2 separate regions of the Homo sapiens genome follow, and region 1 is linked to region 2. Evidence: promoter capture Hi-C in human tissues and cell types (Jung and others, 2019). All regions are on one chromosome and are shown on one strand. The core of a region is centred on a gene start or on the middle of the fragment in contact, and the rest is flanking DNA. Distances in the headings are between cores, read along the strand shown. Region 1 holds the start of PKN3 (protein kinase N3). Region 2 holds the start of DOLK (dolichol kinase).

Evidence for each region. The method cuts DNA at HindIII sites, captures the fragments that hold promoters and counts their contacts. A contact is called where the count stands out against the background at its distance.
Region 1: the fragment with the promoter of PKN3 here is called in contact with the fragment with the promoter of DOLK in region 2 in 1 of the 25 tissues and cell types used here (dorsolateral prefrontal cortex).

Annotation. Positions count from the first base shown.
Region 1 is chr9:128,700,809-128,705,883 of GRCh38, reverse strand. PKN3 (protein kinase N3) reads right to left here and starts at 3,381. Exons shown (of 22, transcript NM_013355.5): 1 at 2,945-3,381; 2 at 341-581; 3 at 5-150. The coding sequence starts at 2,968. RefSeq lists an enhancer at 2,565-3,104 and a silencer at 2,919-3,488. The HindIII fragment of the contact is 13,608 bases long and covers 1-5,075 here.
Region 2 is chr9:128,943,853-128,949,129 of GRCh38, reverse strand. DOLK (dolichol kinase) reads left to right here and starts at 1,527. Exons shown (of 1, transcript NM_014908.4): 1 at 1,527-3,600. The coding sequence starts at 1,827. The coding sequence ends at 3,443. NUP188 (nucleoporin 188) reads right to left here and starts at 1,431. Exons shown (of 44, transcript NM_015354.3): 1 at 1,379-1,431. The coding sequence starts at 1,410. RefSeq lists enhancers at 1,312-1,361, 1,081-1,642, 1,712-1,781, 1,643-2,204, 2,205-2,767. The HindIII fragment of the contact is 11,289 bases long and covers 1-5,277 here.

The DNA.
Region 1 (5,075 bases), core at 2,132-4,631, 250 kb after region 2:
TTACCTTGGGGGTGCCACTGGCGCACGTGTGGGTCATGTTCTCAGCCCCCTGCTTCACCTTCAGCTCCACATGCAGCTGCCTCCGGAGAGCCTCTAGGTGCCGAGCCCTGAGCTGCTCTGCCCACGGCCGGGGTCCTGAGGCCACAGGCTCTGTGCACGGGGGTATCGAGCACAGGAGTCCCTCACCCAGAGCCGAGACCCCCACTGTGGCCTTTCCTCCTTCCCCTACTGATCTATAGGCAGGAAATGAGGTGGTCTCGCCACAGTGGCCAGGGCCAAGGCCAGGGGCCAGATGGGCCTAGAGCCTTCTGTCCTGAGGGGGTCTCAGCTCCTCACTCACCAGCTGGGCCAGGCCCAGGGCCGGGCAGCAGGATTCGGGCGTGCAGCTCCCGCAGCTCGCCATGCAGCTGCTCCAGGCGGCGGTTGGAGGACCGCAGCAGCTGCTGCACATGGCCCAAGTGGCGGCGGTCTGTGGCCACGCGCCGCAGGTTCTCCACCCCCTCCTTGATCTTCAGCTCTTTCTGGATGGCCCGGCGGATCACCTCCTTCTCATCCTCTGGGGGCCACTGGCTCGGCCCAGGCTGCAGAGCCGGTGGAAAGCAGAGGGTGGAGAACAGCCATGGGGTGCAGCGGCCACCAGCAGCCTTTGCTCACTGCAGATGGAGGCGAAGGAAGGGACGGCACCCAGGACTGACTCGCACAGGGTTTTGGAAGCCTCTCTCCCCTTAGAGCTCAGGCCTGAGCCAGATGGAAACTCCGAGGCCACTCATCTAGGCCAGGCTCCTGTCCTCCGCCCGTTAGAGAAGGATGTGGCGGGGGGGACAGTTCACACGGTAAATGGGTGCCAGGTTCTATTCTAAGTGCTTTGCATATATTACCACATCACTCCTCCCAGCCACCCCACCCGGTAGCGGTGGTCATTACCCCCATTTTCTTTTTTCTTTTTCTTTTTCTTTTTTTTTTTTTTGAGACAGTTTTGCTCTTGTTGCCCAGGCTGGAGTGCCATGGCACGATCTCGGTTCACCACAACCTCTGCCTCCCGGGTTCAAGCGATTCTCCTGCCCCAGCCTCCTGAGTAGCTGGGATTACAGGCACACGCCACTAAGCCCGGCTAATTTTGTATTTTTAGTAGGGACGGGGTTTCTCCATGTTCGTCAGGCTGGTCTTGAATCCTGACCTCAGGTGATCCACCTGCCTTGGCCTCCCAAAGTGCTGGGATTACAGGTGTGAGCCACCACGCCTGTACTATTACCCCTATTTTCTAGTGAGGAAACTGAGGCCCAGAGAGGTGAAGTAACTTGCCCACAGTCAAGACACAGAGGAGGGGCCACCATCTCTCGGGCCCCAGCTGTCCCTGGCAGCCCTGGGTAATCAGGCTGCTCTCTCTACATCTGGGACCCAAAGTAGAGTCCAGGAGCCACAAAAGCTACGCCGAATAGGGGTTCACACGAAGCCACATGAGAAGGCAGCCAGGGGCCTGGGAGCCAGGGCTTGTTCCCCTGATGTCCCAATGCCACAGGTAGCAAAGCAGAGGCACAGAGAGGAACTGGGGAGGTCTCCGGGTGCCCACTCCCTGCTCAGCTCCCGGGAGGAAGTAGAAGGCTCTCTCACGGCTTCACCCAGGTTGGAGCCAGGAACAGGAACACCTCCTTTCCAGCCGCCAGCATTTCAAACCAACCGGTGCCAAAGGTGACCTCAGGCCGGGTAACCCATGATGCCCCGCAACACGGGCTGTTGCAGGAACCCCATCTTACCTCTCTGTGTTCCATCTTCTCCTGAGCCCAGTGGAAGGGGCCGCAACCCCAGACTCAGGGACCCCCCCACCCCAGACCTCAGCGGGGCCTGCTGGCCCAGCTGTCAGAGGGCAAGGGCGAGGCTCAGGAAATCCTCTGACCGCCCTAGGCCACAGGGCCAGAGCCAAAGACCGGAGCAAACAAAGGTCCCATGGAGCTGGGGGCCCGGCCACCGGGGTCCTGAGTCACCCAGCTGCCGCTGCAGGGCGGAGCCCCGCAGGAAATCGGAAAATGTGTACAAGCTACGTCTGGAACAGGCGGAGGGACCTCCAGAGGAAGGGGGTGGGAGGGGGCAGACCGAGCCCCAGCCCTGAAGGCGGCCTAAACGACTGGCTTGGGCGCTCAAGGAGTCTACACGCACCCCGCAACACCCCCATGGTCCCGTCTGCCCTGGGTTGGAACTCCAACATGGACACACACACCACCTCCTTTCCGCTCTTTGCGGGGACCCACTCCTGTCCGCAAATGCCCCCCTCCCAACCACTCGCTCCGGAACAGGACACCACCTCTCCCTCCTCAGGAGCAGATAGACATGGCCTCGGTCCTCCGGGCCCACGCGCACCTACTGCCAGCTCTGGCAGGAAACCCAGCCCCCTCCGCATTCTAGAACCCGCTATGTACCCAAAGGTTCCCGCCCTGGGGCGGGGGAGGCCGCTCCCCTCTCATCTACGCTCCCCTCGTGCCTCCTGTGCTCCGGGAAGGACTCCTGCCACTGCCAAGCGCGCACAGACTGCGCCCCCCGCTGCGCGCACATTCTAACCCCCCCAGGCCCCTGTGCCCCGCCTTTCTATCCCGGCTAATTCCCGTCGGCCTTGGAGCCCCACCGAGGAGAACCGACTTAAGGACACTCTGGGGACCACCCTGGTGGCGCACACTGCGGACTCAGCCGTCCTCGCTCACGGGCTGGTTGGGGTTCAGTCTCCGGGTCAGCCGCGGACTGATTTGGAGACTGTGCAAGGTCCAGGAACCACCGAACCCGGAGATCAGGTCTGCTCTGCGAGGGCGTCGCGGGGCCGGGGCCAGGGCAGGGGCAGGGAAGGGGCGCGGGTGAGGGGAGGATCGGGGGAAGCGGCCGCGGTTCGGGGCTCCGGGGCGATGACAGAGGCTTTCTCGCACCCCCCGGGCCCGCGCGCCCCTCCCACGCCGTTCACCTGCCGCGGCGCCCCCTCCTCCATGGCGCCGCTCCGGCCGCTTGGGGCCCTTCTCTCAGCCACTCCGGTCCCGGAAGCCGCAGACCCTCCGCCAGGACTTTCAAACTTGAAACTTCCCGGGAAGCGGCGCCGGAGACGCGGGATCGGGCGCCCCCTCCCGAGACCCGCTGGCCCGCGGGACCAGCGCCGCCTCCCGTCCGCGCCGATCCAGCGCCCGGGACCCCACGCCCGAGGTCCCGCGCCCCAGCGCCTCCCTCGGATCCAAAATTCCGCGGGATTCTGGGCCCAGTACCCGGGCTTCGGCGCCTGCGGTTCCCGCTGGGCGTGACCGCGCCTCACCCCCGGTTTGGACGCTCAGGAGGCACATCGCCCGCGCCCAGGTCCTCTGGCCTTCCCCGCCGCGCGCCCGCGGGAGCCGGCCAGTTAGGGACAGGGATGGGGGAAACAGCGCCCCCTGAAGGTTGCCGGGTCGCCCAGCCGGGTGCAGCCGGTGGAGCTGGCCGCCTCCTCTAACTTTGAGCCCCTCTACAACCTGGCTCCCGCCTCTAACGCGCTGGGCCTCCTCGACCAAGCCCCTCAAGTCTCTCTTTGTCTCGCACGTTGTTGGTGTAATGTGGGCTAATCCAAAATTGTCTCTCTCCTCGGAGTGGTTGGCCCAGACTAGATATTAGTCACTACAAGAATGTATACTAGGCCAGGTGCGGTGGCTCACGCCTGTAATCCCAGCAGTTTGGGAGGCAGAGGTGGACGGATCACGAGGTCAGGAGTTCGAGACCAGCCTGGCCAACATGGTGAAACCCCCGTCTCTACTAAAAATACAAAAATTAGCCGGTCGTGGTGGCGGGCGCCTGTAATCCCAGCTACTCAGGAGGCTGAGGTGGGAGAATCACTTGTACCCAGTAGGCGGAGGTTGCAGTGAGCCGAGATCCTGCCACTGCCCTCCAACCTGGGTGACAGAGCGAGACTCCATCTCAAAAAAAAAAAAAAAAAAAAAAAAAGAACGTATACTTGTGGAAAAGTAAATCCTCACCCAAAATTATGATAAATTACAAATTACAGATGAATGAACCAGACCTCTCTCCGGCCCATCTCTTACTCAGACTGAGCTTGCTGGTTCAGCCCGTGCCACTTTTTAGGGCTTTACCCTAAAAAGCCCATCCATCCACACGGGAGAAAAGCCATTTACACCTGGTGAAATAGCCGCCACTATTTCAGCCCAAGGGAGGTGTGCTGGTCACTGCCTAGTCTATGGCGGGCCATTCAGCCCGTCCTGGCATCCTGCGTTTACAGGAGGTTGTGTCAGCACTTCGTGGAGGAGCGTCCTCCAGGAGGTGGGAAGGTGATGAAGGGTCAAATACCGACAGTGACTTGGAACAGACAGGCTCTGGTGCTCTTACTGAATGAAGGAAGCCACATGTTGTGCTTTGCACTAATCACTTCCTTCATAATGGACTGGAAAAAAGTGAAATTGGTGAGCCATGGACAACACTGGGTTGTCCTGCTATGGGAAATCACCCAAGTGGCATTGACATATAAGCAAAGGCAACTTGGCTCTGTGAAACATGCCCAGATTTCATAATCAGAGGCGAAATGTGACATTTACACATTAGAGTTGTTGAGGTCTAGACATTAGCAGAAGCACCTGGCACATAGTAGGTTCTTTGACATGGGGGTTGGCTGGGCATGGTGGCTCATGCCTGTAATCCCAGCACTTTGGGAGGCTGAGGAGGGCAGATCACTTAAGGTCAGGAGTTCAAGACCAGCCTGGCCAACATGGTGAAATCCCGTCTCTGCTAAAAAAAAATTAAAAAGGCAGCTGGGCGCGGTGGCTCACGCCTGTAATCCTAGCACTTTGGGAGGCCGAGGCAGGCGGATCACAAGGTCAGGAGTTCGAGACCAGCCTGGCCAACATGGTGAAACCCCGTCTCTACTAAAACTACAAAAAAAAAATATTAGCTGGGCATGGTGGTGGGTGCCTGTAATCCCAGCTACTAGGGAGGCTGAGGCTGGAGAATCACTTGAACCTGGGAAGTGGAGGTTGCAGTAAGCCAATCTCGCCACTACACTCCAGCCTAGATGACAAGAGCAAAACTGCATCTCAAAAAAATACATAAAATAAAAAATTAGAAAA
Region 2 (5,277 bases), core at 278-2,777:
GCCTCATAGCCATTTTGTCTGCTCTCTAAAAGCAAAAAATCTCAATATACAAAACGATTTGTTAAATTTTTGGAAAGTAATCTTGTTATATAATAATATTGTTAGGGCCGGGCACGGTGGCTCATGCCTGTAATCCCAGCACTTTGGGAGGTCGAGGCGGGCGGATCATGAGGTCAGAAGATCGAGACCATCCTGGCTAACACAGTGAAACCCTGTCTCTACTGAAAATACAAAAAATTAGCCAGGCGTTGTGGCGGGTGCCTGTATCCCCAGCTACTTGGGAGGCTGAGGCAGGAGAATGGCATGAACCCGGGAGACAGAGCTTGCAGTGAGCCGAGATCGTGCCATTGCACTCCAGCCTGGGCGACAGAGCGAGACTCCGTCTCAAAAAAAAAAAAAAAAAAAAAAAAAAAAAAAAGTGGGGAAAACACTGCTGGCACAGGGAAGGATAAGAGACGGGGATGTTTAACTTTGAGGGAGGGTGGTGGGAAGAACGAAGACCTTCGAGCTGCAATGTGGAAGACAGAAGGAGGCGTGGTGGTCTGGTTATAGCACTGGAGGTACGCAGACTTCAGCTTGAAGGCTCTCTTTATCACTTGGCTAGCTCTGAGCCGGACTTCTGAGTCATCTGTGAAATAGAAGGCGCCTCTCGGAGTTGCGAGAATTGAATGAGATAACTCCTGGGAAGCGCTCCACCAGGGTCTGACGCTAGAAAGCACTTTGTCAGAATTGTAGTTTTCGTATATAATATTTCATCTTCTTGTCCCTAAAGCCTAGTTCAATCCCTGAAATCTCTTGGAGGATTTGGACATGCTGGCTGACTTGATTCAGTGCAAGAAAAGAACGATACGAGGCGCGGAGAGGACAGAAGCCGCAAGCGTGGCTCCGCTCAACGCGAAACAAAATCCTAACAAGAACAGATCGCGGGAGAGGTCGGGGAGCCAGCAGGGCGCACTCGACGCCGGGGCAGGACACTGGGAGCCTGCAGCAGGGACGTGGGTGGGGGGTACCCCAGGAGACCGCAAAGCTCCCCGTGGCTCGAGGGAGCGTCACGGCCGGAGAAGGAAGCGCGGGTGGGGCGCCAAGAGACGCGTCGGAGGTGAGAGAGGAGGAAGGCAAAGGGCCCTGGGTGAGGAGATGGGAGGCCGAGCGCGGAGGGAAGGGGTGAAGAGCCGGCCCCCCTCCTGAAGAAGACTCTTCAGATCCCCGCGCGCGGGGACCGTTTGGACGTAACCGCCTCCCGTCTCGGTGCCCGTCCATCCAGCCGGGGTTGGCCCTGCCACTGTCGCCACATCCCGCCTCCAATTCCCGCCCCGCTTCCGCTCGGCTTTGACACCGCGCTTCACAGCCACCCCGGTCCATTCGACCCGCTCCGCACCTCACACACGGCCCGCCGGCGGCCGCCGCCATCTTCGCGCGCCCGCTCGCCCTAACCCCGCCCCCAGACGCCATGCCCACGTGACCGCTCGCCCCCGGACCCGGAGCGTGGGCGGGGATTTCGTCACGTGACGTTGCCGCGGGGCGGTGCCAAGATGGCGAGGCCCAAAGAGGTGAGGAGCCGGCAGCGGGGGCGGCTGTAACTGTGAGGAAGGCTGCAGAGTGGCGACGTCTACGCCGTAGGTTGGAGGCTGTGGGGGGTGGCCGGGCGCCAGCTCCCAGGCCGCAGAAGTGACCTGCGGTGGAGTTCCCTCCTCGCTGCTGGAGAACGGAGGGAGAAGGTTGCTGGCCGGGTGAAAGTGCCTCCCTCTGCTTGACGGGGCTGAGGGGCCCGAAGTCTAGGGCGTCCGTAGTCGCCCCGGCCTCCGTGAAGCCCCAGGTCTAGAGATATGACCCGAGAGTGCCCATCTCCGGCCCCGGGGCCTGGGGCTCCGCTGAGTGGATCGGTGCTGGCAGAGGCGGCAGTAGTGTTTGCAGTGGTGCTGAGCATCCACGCAACCGTATGGGACCGATACTCGTGGTGCGCCGTGGCCCTCGCAGTGCAGGCCTTCTACGTCCAATACAAGTGGGACCGGCTGCTACAGCAGGGAAGCGCCGTCTTCCAGTTCCGAATGTCCGCAAACAGTGGCCTATTGCCCGCCTCCATGGTCATGCCTTTGCTTGGACTAGTCATGAAGGAGCGGTGCCAGACTGCTGGGAACCCGTTCTTTGAGCGTTTTGGCATTGTGGTGGCAGCCACTGGCATGGCAGTGGCCCTCTTCTCATCAGTGTTGGCGCTCGGCATCACTCGCCCAGTGCCAACCAACACTTGTGTCATCTTGGGCTTGGCTGGAGGTGTTATCATTTATATCATGAAGCACTCGTTGAGCGTGGGGGAGGTGATCGAAGTCCTGGAAGTCCTTCTGATCTTCGTTTATCTCAACATGATCCTGCTGTACCTGCTGCCCCGCTGCTTCACCCCTGGTGAGGCACTGCTGGTATTGGGTGGCATTAGCTTTGTCCTCAACCAGCTCATCAAGCGCTCTCTGACACTGGTGGAAAGTCAGGGGGACCCAGTGGACTTCTTCCTGCTGGTGGTGGTAGTAGGGATGGTACTCATGGGCATTTTCTTCAGCACTCTGTTTGTCTTCATGGACTCAGGCACCTGGGCCTCCTCCATCTTCTTCCACCTCATGACCTGTGTGCTGAGCCTTGGTGTGGTCCTACCCTGGCTGCACCGGCTCATCCGCAGGAATCCCCTGCTCTGGCTTCTTCAGTTTCTCTTCCAGACAGACACCCGCATCTACCTCCTAGCCTATTGGTCTCTGCTGGCCACCTTGGCCTGCCTGGTGGTGCTGTACCAGAATGCCAAGCGGTCATCTTCCGAGTCCAAGAAGCACCAGGCCCCCACCATCGCCCGAAAGTATTTCCACCTCATTGTGGTAGCCACCTACATCCCAGGTATCATCTTTGACCGGCCACTGCTCTATGTAGCCGCCACTGTATGCCTGGCGGTCTTCATCTTCCTGGAGTATGTGCGCTACTTCCGCATCAAGCCTTTGGGTCACACTCTACGGAGCTTCCTGTCCCTTTTTCTGGATGAACGAGACAGTGGACCACTCATTCTGACACACATCTACCTGCTCCTGGGCATGTCTCTTCCCATCTGGCTGATCCCCAGACCCTGCACACAGAAGGGTAGCCTGGGAGGAGCCAGGGCCCTCGTCCCCTATGCCGGTGTCCTGGCTGTGGGTGTGGGTGATACTGTGGCCTCCATCTTCGGTAGCACCATGGGGGAGATCCGCTGGCCTGGAACCAAAAAGACTTTTGAGGGGACCATGACATCTATATTTGCGCAGATCATTTCTGTAGCTCTGATCTTAATCTTTGACAGTGGAGTGGACCTAAACTACAGTTATGCTTGGATTTTGGGGTCCATCAGCACTGTGTCCCTCCTGGAAGCATACACTACACAGATAGACAATCTCCTTCTGCCTCTCTACCTCCTGATATTGCTGATGGCCTAGCTGTTACAGTGCAGCAGCAGTGACGGAGGAAACAGACATGGGGAGGGTGAACAGTCCCCACAGCAGACAGCTACTTGGGCATGAAGAGCCAAGGTGTGAAAAGCAGATTTGATTTTTCAGTTGATTCAGATTTAAAATAAAAAGCAAAGCTCTCCTAGTTCTAGTTTTGCTGATATATTTTTTTTTTTATTTTTTTTTGAGACAGTTTTGCTCTTGTTGCCCAGGTTGGAGTGCAATGGCGCGATCTCGGCTCACCGCAACCTCCACCTCCCAGGTTCAAGCGATTCTCCTGTCCCAGCCTCCTGAGTAGCTGGGATTACAGGCATGCGCCACCATGCCCAGCTAATTTTGTATTTTGAGTAGAGACAGGGTTTCTCCATGTTGGTCAGGCTGGTCTCGATCTCCCGACCTCAGGTGATCTGCCCACCTTGGCCTCCCAAAGTGTTGAGATTACAGGCGTGAGCCACCATCCCAGCCTTGCTGATATTTAAAAAGAAAAGAGTCTTAAGGGATAGTCCAGCAACTCAAAGAACCTGAGTGTGCTATAGAGCCCCCTCTTTCGCCCTGCAGCCTCGGAGGAGGCCAGAGTGGACACTGGAGGGAGTAAAGCATAATGGTTAACACTTTAGTCTCTGGGTCAAACTAATCTGGTCAGAATCCTTGGCTGCACAGCTTCTTACTAACTTTGTGACCTTGAATGGCCAGGCGTGGTGGCTCATGCCTGTAATCCCAGCACTTTGGGAGGCCGAGGCAGGTGGATCACCTGAGGTCGGGAGATCGAGACCAGCCTGACCAACATGGAGAAACACTGTCTCTACTAAAAATACAAAATTAGCCAGGCGTGGTGGCATATGCCTGTAATCCCACCTACTAGAGAGGCTGAGGCAGGAGAATCACTTGAACCTGGGAGACGGAGGTTGAAGTGAGCTGAGATCGCGCCATTGCACTCCAGTCTGGGCAACAAGAGCGAAACTCCGTCTCAAAACAAAACAAAACAAAACAAAAAAACAACTTTGTGACCTTGGGTGAGTCACTTAGCCAGGCTGAACCTCAATTCTCTTGCAGATGGGAGTAATGACAGCCCACACCTCGCGGGGTGTTGTGAGGGTCCAGCCTAGAGCCCACCCTTGATAAGCAGTCAGAAAGGGAGTCATTTTTACCAAAGACCAGTCCTCATCTTAGTGAAAAGCCGAAAAGCTGGGCAAACCACTTGGAAACCAGAGTGACCTTTGCTCTCCTGGCTTCACTTGGAGGTGGAGAACTCCTGAGGGAAAGAGCAGAGGGCTAGGAATTACTGAAGGGAGAGGTGGGTCAACTTTGGCAGGGTTGAGGGAGGATCAGATCCTGCTTGGGCTGGATCTTGTTTTAGCCAACCCCACCCCGCCTCTGGTGTCCCACTGAGTGGTGTCCATAGAGAAAGATGGGCTGAACAGCACCAGGACCTCATCAAGGGGCCCTTCTTAAGACCTTTCCATGTTCTAATCCTATCCAAACCTGTGTTTGTCTTTTCCTAAGGTAGGAAAGATCCACAGGGGCTGGGGGAGTTTCCTGAGAGGTAAAATGACTGTATGAGGGGCCCACGCTGCAGCCTTGCTCTCTGGCTGGGAAGACAGGCTCCGGCACTGCCTCACTCCCCACCCCATCCCCCAAGGCTAGCACAGGGCACTGACAAGGAGCAGGAAATCAGTAGATTTGGGAGTCCATCTGCACTGTGTCCCTCCCAGAATTGTACACTACACAGATAGTGAATGGATAAACATTTTCCGTCACTAGGAAGATAGCACAGCAAGATTCCTGAGGCTGGACAAGGTTCTCCCTTTCTCCCCAAGCTTGG